Regions from separate parts of the Homo sapiens genome. Here regions 1 and 2 are each linked to region 3. Evidence: promoter capture Hi-C in 16 types of primary human blood cells and fetal thymus (Javierre and others, 2016). All regions are on one chromosome and are shown on one strand. The core of a region is centred on a gene start or on the middle of the fragment in contact, and the rest is flanking DNA. Distances in the headings are between cores, read along the strand shown. Region 1 has its middle 75 kb from the start of NALF2. Region 2 overlaps NALF2 (NALCN channel auxiliary factor 2). Region 3 holds the start of AWAT2 (acyl-CoA wax alcohol acyltransferase 2).

Evidence for each region. The method cuts DNA at HindIII sites, captures the fragments that hold promoters and counts their contacts. A CHiCAGO score of 5 or more calls a contact.
Region 1: a contact is called between a fragment that was not itself captured here and the fragment with the promoter of AWAT2 in region 3, in 1 of 17 cell types (M1 macrophages). The highest score is 5.3, in M1 macrophages.
Region 2: a fragment that was not itself captured here is called in contact with the fragment with the promoter of AWAT2 in region 3 in 1 of 17 cell types (M1 macrophages); the score reaches 6.3 in M1 macrophages.

Annotation. Positions count from the first base shown.
Region 1 is chrX:69,428,008-69,430,717 of GRCh38, reverse strand. No RefSeq gene overlaps it. Among named protein-coding and RNA genes, the nearest start is that of NALF2, 75 kb to the left of the region's middle. The HindIII fragment of the contact is 543 bases long and covers 1,116-1,658 here.
Region 2 is chrX:69,511,528-69,514,241 of GRCh38, reverse strand. All of the region lies in intron 1 of NALF2 (NALCN channel auxiliary factor 2), which reads right to left. Among named protein-coding and RNA genes, the nearest start is that of NALF2, 8.6 kb to the right of the region's middle. The HindIII fragment of the contact is 5,338 bases long and covers 1-2,714 here.
Region 3 is chrX:70,048,503-70,051,274 of GRCh38, reverse strand. It overlaps AWAT2 (acyl-CoA wax alcohol acyltransferase 2), which reads left to right and starts at 1,337. Exons shown (of 8, transcript NM_001002254.1): 1 at 1,337-1,427. The coding sequence starts at 1,343. The HindIII fragment of the contact is 8,371 bases long and covers 1-2,772 here.

The sequences.
Region 1 (2,710 bases), core at 138-2,637, 620 kb after region 3:
CCCTTAGATGTTCACACGGTTCACTCCCTCACTTTGTTACTAGCTCAAAAGCCACCTCTGCACATAGGCCATCCAGGACCACCCAAATTATAGTAATTCCTCCCTCCCTTTCATTGTCTGTCAGTTTTATTTTTCTGTGAGCCTTTTCACTATCTGATTTTATTTTGTTAATTTACTTGTTCATGTGTCTATTATCTAGCTCCCCTTAGTATCAGCTTCATGAGAGCAGGAACCTTGACCAACTTGTTCACTGCTCTATCCGGACTGCAGGGCACAAAATGAGTGAGCAAACGATTATTTTCCACAATTCTTGGAGTCCTGTTTATTTTCCCTAGTATTCTCTCCCGATTCTCTGTTCTTAACCTGCCCCTCTGGATGCCACAAAATTAGTGCTTCCATATCCTTCTATCCTTTAAAAGTGCCAGTTAGTATATTTTTCAGTTGTGAATCCCTTTCATCTAAGTCTTAATGATATCTTTGATTTTTTTTTACTTCTTCGTATTGAAAAATCTCATTTTGCTTTGTTTTCAGCTCTTACTCTTCACACTGGTATATTGACAGTCAAGGCTGGAAGCGCCATGCCCGATTTCCTTCTCAGTCATTTTCTCCTGCAAATCACTGGGTGTCTCTTTCACTATTATTCTTCTGTCGCTGATATGTCTGTTGCTGTCTATAGTATCTGGTCTTACAGTCTGATATGGGCATGTTTTGCTCCCCCCTTCCACCACCTTTTCCAGTTAAAGTCATCTTGATCAGATCGGCAAGTCTCCAGGCAACCACATTCTTCCTTACTGAGATGCACTCGATCCCTAGCCAAAAGTCTATCCCTCCAGTATCTTAAGCCATTGTCCAAAACACAAATTTGCACAGCTTCAACCCTTCCCTGCATCTCCAGCTGTGCTGGCTACAGCCACCCCCACACCTAGCCTCAAGGGACCTCTGACCTCCAAGCTAGCCCTGCAGCGACTGAGATGTAGACAAATCCTATTCCCTTCAGTTCAGATGAAACAATATTAGAATTTATCAAAAGGAAATTTGCTAGGAAGCCAAGTGAAAAACAAAACCAGAGAAAGGGAGGGAGAGAGGGAGAGAGGGAGAGAGAAAATACAAAAGCTTAGGAGAGGATGCATTACACACTCCCGATTCCTTATCCTGAGATAACTACACTCTGGTTGAAGATTGTCTTGGCTAGCACAGCTCACAGGGCACACAGGATATGAGACTATAATCCTTCAACCTTTTCACAAAGGGGCGATAGCCATGGGGCGGGGGAAGAGCTTGCAGAAAGGCAAAAAGAGTCTTTGTGTGTCTGGACTGTTTCATTCCACAGAAATGGTACCTGAAGAAGTGTGAACTCCCAGCAGCTCTGGGAGGGGCAGGAAACCCTACCTACCAGCCCTTGTTTCCCTGGAAGCTCCTTGCAAACTTACTGAACTCATCTATTAGTTCTGATAGTTTTTAGTGGCTTCTTTAGGATTTTCTATATACAAGATCATGCCATCTGCAAATAAAGTTAGCTTTACATCTTCCTTTCCAATCTGGATGTCTTTTATTCTCTTTTCTTGCTTAATTGCCCTGGCTAGAAATTCCAGTACAATGTTGAATAGAACTGGCAAAAGTGGATATCTGCATCTTGTTCTTGGTCTTAGCAGGAAGCTTTCAGTTTTTCACCATTGTATGATGTTAGCTGTGGGTTTTATGTAGATGTAGTCTCACTAATTCTTTCATAAATAACCAATGCTTTATTGTAAAGCTCTGCTATACTTTTTGCGTTTTCTTTATTTTACTTTTAGCCTCCTTTTCTTGTACATTTTCTTTTGAAAAATCTTGACTGTCTCAGCAGTGCTAGAGAAATCGAGAGGGAAAGGCTTGATTTTCTTTCAGTCATCTATTCAGCAAGCATTTATTAACTGCCTACTATGTGCCAACACTGTCCTAGGTTTTTGGGGATATAGTAATGAACAAAATAAAGTCTCTATCCTCTGGAACTCACATTCTAGGGATGAACTTAGACAATAAGTAAATAGTCAAGACAATTACATGGAAAGATAAGTGCTGAGAAGGAAGAAATCAGGGTGTTATGAAAGGGAGGGCTTCTACGGCTGCTTTATAGAGAGTGATCAGGGAAGATCTCTTTGTGGAGGTGACATAATGGCTGGGATCTGAATGATAAGAAAGAGCAAGCCATCAGAAGAGCTCAGAGAAGAGTGTCCCAGCAGATGGAACAAGTGCACATGACTTGAGGTGGGAATGAGCCAGGCAAGTGGGTAGGGGGAGGGCAACCAAGAAGGCAGCTCAATGTGGGAGGGAGAAAAGGGGAGAGTGGGAGGTGATGAGGACAAAGCCAGACACTGATCTTGCAGGCAAGGATACTGGAGAAGCCAATACGTGATGGGAAGCCACTGGAAGGTGTTAAACAGAGGATGCTGTAATCTAATTTAAGTTAGTAAAAAAAAATCCCTCTGGCTGATGTATCCGTACATATCTAGATATCAGGCTTTGTGAAGCACAGGGCTATTTGGAGTTGGTCCAGAAATTTCGGATAGTTGGAGGGCCTCTGTTCACCTCTGCAGCATCGCCTCACAGAGCAGCCCAATAAGCCAAATCATGTCCCTCCTTTCCTCAAAACCTTCCTATGGCTCCCTATTTCTCTGAAAATGAATACTTTCTCGGTGGCCATTAGGACACTACCAAATCTGCCCCTCTCCAT
Region 2 (2,714 bases), core at 113-2,612, 540 kb after region 3:
CAGGGGCTGGAAGGAGGGAAGAATGGGGAGTTTTTTTTTTTTTTAATTTTTTGAGACAGAGTCTTACTCTGTCACCCAGGCTGGAGTGCAGTGACGCGATCTCAGCTCACGGCAACCTCCACCTCCCAGGTTCAAGTGATTCTCCTGTCTCACCCCGAGTAGCTGGGATTACAGGTGTGCACCGCCATGCCCGGCTAAGTTTTGTATTTTTAGTAGAGCTGGGGTTTCGCCATGTTGGCCAGGCTGGTCTTGAACTCCTGACCTCAGGTGATCTGCTCAGCTCGACCTCCAAAAGTGCTGGGATTACAGGTGTGAGCCACCGCGCCCGGCTGGGAGTTCTTGTTTAATGGGCACAGAGTTTCTGTTTGGGAGGATGAAAACGTTTTAGAAATGGATAGTGGTGATAATTGTACAATACTGCAAATGTGCTTAATTCCACTGAATTGTACACTTAAAAATAGTTGAAATGGTATATTTTATGTTATGTACATTTTACCACGGGAAAAAAAAAAGACTAAGTGCTCTGGGACTTTTTTCCTTTTATACTTCTACTTTCCAAAATTTCTCAAAGGCCTTTTTGGTTAACTGGAAAAAAAGATATTATAAGATTCTGAGACTATAATAATTCTAAGAGATTAACTTAGTTGGAAGTTTTAATGAGTTCAACACTAAACAGACAAGCTCACCTTTCACAGATCAGCCAGGTAGCCATGCTATCTTCTTAAAACCAAATAAGACAGGGAACATTGGTAACACCCATCACCACCAAATGCCCCTCTTCTGGCAGAACTTGGTGGACTGGCACTTCCTTCAATCCCCAAGAAAAGCCTAGGTGTTCAAGTTTAGGGGCTCACCAAAACCCTTGCATGGGAACTGGGCATCCAAAGCCCAGGCCAGGCCTCAGCGGACTCTGGGGCAACAAAGTCTTACTGCAGTCGTTTTCCCTTCCAGCTCTACCAGCATGTGCAAGGATATGGAGAAACTGCACATGTTGAGGTGTAGTGGATGTGGAGGCCAGGGTCTCAGGTCTGCATTAGGCCTGCTTAGGGACTAACTTAGGTTAATGTTCTGCACCTTCTCCCCTCGTGCTCTGCTTGATCCCTCCAGCAGATTGGGGCTGAGAATATAACAGAGATACCTTCCCTCCAGGCGAGAGGAGCCCAGGTCCTCCCATCTCCTTTGCAGTTCCTTCCCTGTGCCCATTCTCTTGTTGCTATTCCAGGAAGGTAACAGTGATTGTCACTGGGTCCAAGGACAAGAGACTGGGACGTTGAACAAAGAGGATGTTGGTGGGTCCTCGTTTTGGATCTGGGCCACTCCAGAGGACCTCTAAGCTACCAATAGGCTCTGTTGGGCCTCCCTTCCAGTCGGCCCAGCTTCTCAGCCCAGCCTCTCAGTAGCCAGCTGGGCACTACCTCTGACAGTTGGAGGAGATTATTAGCATTTTCTTCATGCATCTGTGCACTGGAGAAAGAACAGACAGACCTAGGTTTGTATGCCAGTCCTTTTGCTATGTGGCCTGGGTAGGTCATTTCACCTCACTGAGCCTCAGTTGTCTCATGTGTAAAATGGGAATCATGATAGTGCCTGCCTGCTAGGATGACTGCCAGGATTAAATGAGTTCATGAACATATATAAAGCCCCTGGCATCTCCTAGGCACTCAAAGACTCGCAATTTTCTTCTTTCCTTCCCCTTTCTTAGCCCTTTCGTCTTTGCAGCCAGTTGGCCTCATCTTCTGGTGCACAGACTTGTGGCTCAGGTTCCAGCTCCTTTCTCCAGAATGCATTCGAGCAGGAGCTTTGGCCCTGGCAGTCCCTGTCACTCCATAGTAACTCCTTCCCTCTCCAGAGCCAGCTGCAGCTCGCCTGGTGCCCTTGCCCTCCCCTCTAAGCACCTATCTGGCTAACAGTATCAAAAATTCAGGCGTTACTGAGCCCACTTTTATGCCCAGGGAGAAAAGGCTGGTCCAGCATCCCTGGCCTCTTGCACACACTCTGGTCTGTGTGCCTGTAATCACACAAAACGCAAACATACCCATTCCCCAGAGACCTACCAGGCCAGCATCGGAGAATGGTGCTTGTAGGGGTCCAGATTTGTCCAGATCCCCAGAAGCAGGGGCCACCCCTGGCTTTCAGCTAACACTGGCAGCTGGAATCCACATGTGGCTGAGAAATGAGCTGGGGAGGGCAGGTTTGATGCCCAGTCTGTATGGGCACACAGAAGGTAAACTGCCTCAGAGGGTGGGGGCACAGAATAACTGCCCCAAAGGAGTTTTTCTAAGGCACACTCCCGCCCCTGAGTCTGAGGTTCAGCCTATGTCCCTACCCACATGTAAAAAAGTGAGTATACCCTTTCCTTAGGGTACTGACACATCCAGAGGGGACCAACATGCATCCGCATGGCTTAGAAGCACCCTCGCATGCTTACGATGTGTTGGGAGATTCTTGACCCTCCTTTGATCTTGGTTCCACCCACTGTCTTCCCTTTCCTCACTCCCACCTTCACCATGTTCAGCAGACTCTTCCTGCCAGACCATGGTATTGGGTGGGAGGCTGTTAGGCTCCCTTTCTCCACCTAACTCCCCCAACCCCCACCTTCAGGAGATACCAGTGTATCCTTCCTGGAGGTTCCCGTTGCTATGGTGACTGTAGTAGTCAGGCACCAGCCTGCGGGAAGGATGGGAAGTAGCCATGAAGAAGACCGGGGGATGTGT
Region 3 (2,772 bases), core at 88-2,587:
AGAAATATAAAATATAAAATATTAAAATATAAAAATATATTTAATATATTATATATAAATATTAATATATAAAAATATATTAAAATATAAAAAATATTAAAATATTAAAAATATAAAATATTTATATATTTTACTAGATTTAATAAATCAATCTTTGTTTGATTTATTACATATTTATCCATCAGTACATCCCTGTATCCATCCATCAATATATTTTACATGCATTTCAAAGTAAATTGCAGACATCAGCACTCTTTTTTGTTTTGTTTTTTTAGAGACAGTGTCTCACTCTGTCATCCAGGCTGGAGTGCAGTGGCACGGTCATAGCTCACTGTAATCTCTAATTCCTGGCCTCAAGTGATCCTCCTGCCTTGGCCTCCCAAAGTGCTGGGATTACAGGTGTGAGCTACCATGCCCAGCCTAGTATTCTTCACCCCTAAACACTTCAGAATTAATGAGAGTTCAACTTTTTTTTTTTACTTTCGAGGTAAAATCCACAGGCAGTGAAACGTACACATTTTAAGTGTATACTCACTGAGTAATGAGGTTTTGATCTGTGTAACTCACAGTCCTATCAAGACAGAGAACGTCACTGTTACCCCTAAAGGTTTCCATCATGCCCCTTCCTAGTCAATCCCCAAGCACAGGTAACCACTGCTGTGATTTGTTTCACTATAGATTGGTTTTGCCTATTCTAAAATTTCATGTACACAGAATAATATACACCAATATTTGTTTCTTCATTCAATAATAGGTTTATTCAGTACCTATGATAGCTCACAGACATACATGTGATGTCTCTTCAATGTGAGTAATGAGTTCTCCCAGACTGACTAAAAGGCTGAAGGTATTTCTAAGGCCTTGCCTGTGACCTCCTTCCCTCTGCCCTCCAATCCCATTGTCACTGAGAGACCATAGACAGTTGGGCCTCAGAAACAGAAATGCAAGCCCTGTGTCCCATTTGAGCCCTGGGCTCCTTCCTGCCCATCACTCTCCACCATCCAGACTGGCCCTGGAGGCCTCTTGTCAGCTGCACGCCCACACTAACTTTCACACCAGGGTTTCATCACATTTCTCTAGCCAAGTGCGCAAAGGAGTGTCACAATCTCAGTCCAGGCAATACCCAAGTGGGTAAAAGTACAGGTGAGTGGGCAGCTGGAAGGAACTGGATAAGCAGAGGCATTATATGGTCCTGTAATTCTGTGGAGGGGTGGTACAGGGGCGGAGGCTAGCCAGAGGCTGGGGAAGAAAACATTAAGAGAGGAAACATCACAGACTCCTGAGCAATCAGGGCTGGGCAGCTGAACAGTGCTTACCTGGAGCCACTGGGACGCTGGGCACAATGCTCTTGCCCTCTAAGAAGGACCTCAAGACTGCCCTGGATGTCTTTGCTGTTTTCCAGTGGTCCTTCAGTGCCTTGCTTATCAGTGAGTCTTCAGCCTTTGGTAGGGTGACCAACCATCCTGGCTTGCCTGAGACTGAAGGATTTTAGGGTTGCAGGATGTTCAATGGTCAAACTAGGGTTGTTCCAGTAAAACCAGGAAGGTTGGTAACACCAGCCTCTGGCCTGACCCACCTGGCCATGGTATTTGTGGGATCTGTGAGTGTCCCTGTGGGCATGTGTGTGTGCATATGGGTGTGTGCCTATGCAGGGGTGTGTATATGCACGTCTATGCACATGGACTTTGCTGCAGGTGTGAGCCCTTCTCGGTCTACATTGGGGTGTAGAGGGCATTCTTTGGGAAGATGAGGAGCAGTTCCACTGAGGCTAGCCAAGGAAAAGGGCTTGGCTGCAATCACAGGGACTCAAGCAAACCACCAATTAGAGATAGTTGGGTCAGGTGGCAGACCGAGGCTCTGGAAACCTCATCCTGAGGAATTCGACAATTTATCCATCCATGTCTTCCAACGCTTACACTACAAACACTTTGTGAAAGTTATTTCTATGCTGGCCACTGTGTTCTAAATGCTGAAACAAATCATCACTGTGGGAAGGGGTCCTGGAAAACATTCTTGCCTTTCCAGTGGTTCAGGTGAGTACTGGCTGGAGTCAGGGAAATGAATTAAGTGACCTTGCAAGCTATCTAGGAATAAAGAATGCAGATAGGCCTTGGTGCACAGAGCTGGCACAGAGGCACGCCAGTGAATAGGAAGGGTGGGCATTCCTTACCTCACCTCACCTGTTTTCAAATTCCAGTTCTACTACTTACTATCTGTGTAATTCTTAGCAAGGTATTTATCCTTTCTGAGTCTTGTTTTCCTCATTTGCAAAGTGGGAGCATTCAGGGTGTATTAATCAGGATGGTCTAGGTATGCCGTGCTGATAAATTCACCCTGAAATCTCAGTGGCTTAACCCAGCAAATGTTTATTTCTTGTTCATGCTGAATGTCCAACATAGGTTGGTGGGAGTCACCGCTCACTGTGGACATTGATATTCAGGCTGACGGAGGCACCACCAAATTGTGTCGCTGCAAAATGGGGCTTGAGGGATTACCACAGCATGGGAGGGAAAGTGAATGGAGAACTCATTCACAGTCCTTACTACCTCCACCCAGAAGTGATAGGCAAGAAACCATGAGCTGTCGCCTCATTTTGAACGTCCTTAATTACTGATGAGTTTGAGCATCTTTTCATGTTTATCAGCAATTAGTATTTCTTTTTCTGTTAACTGCCCATTTATGACCTCTGCCCATTTTTCTCTTGAATTTGAGTTGACTCTTGAAGGACAAATAGGAAATAGGTGAAGAAAGGAAGAGCATTTGGGGCAGAGA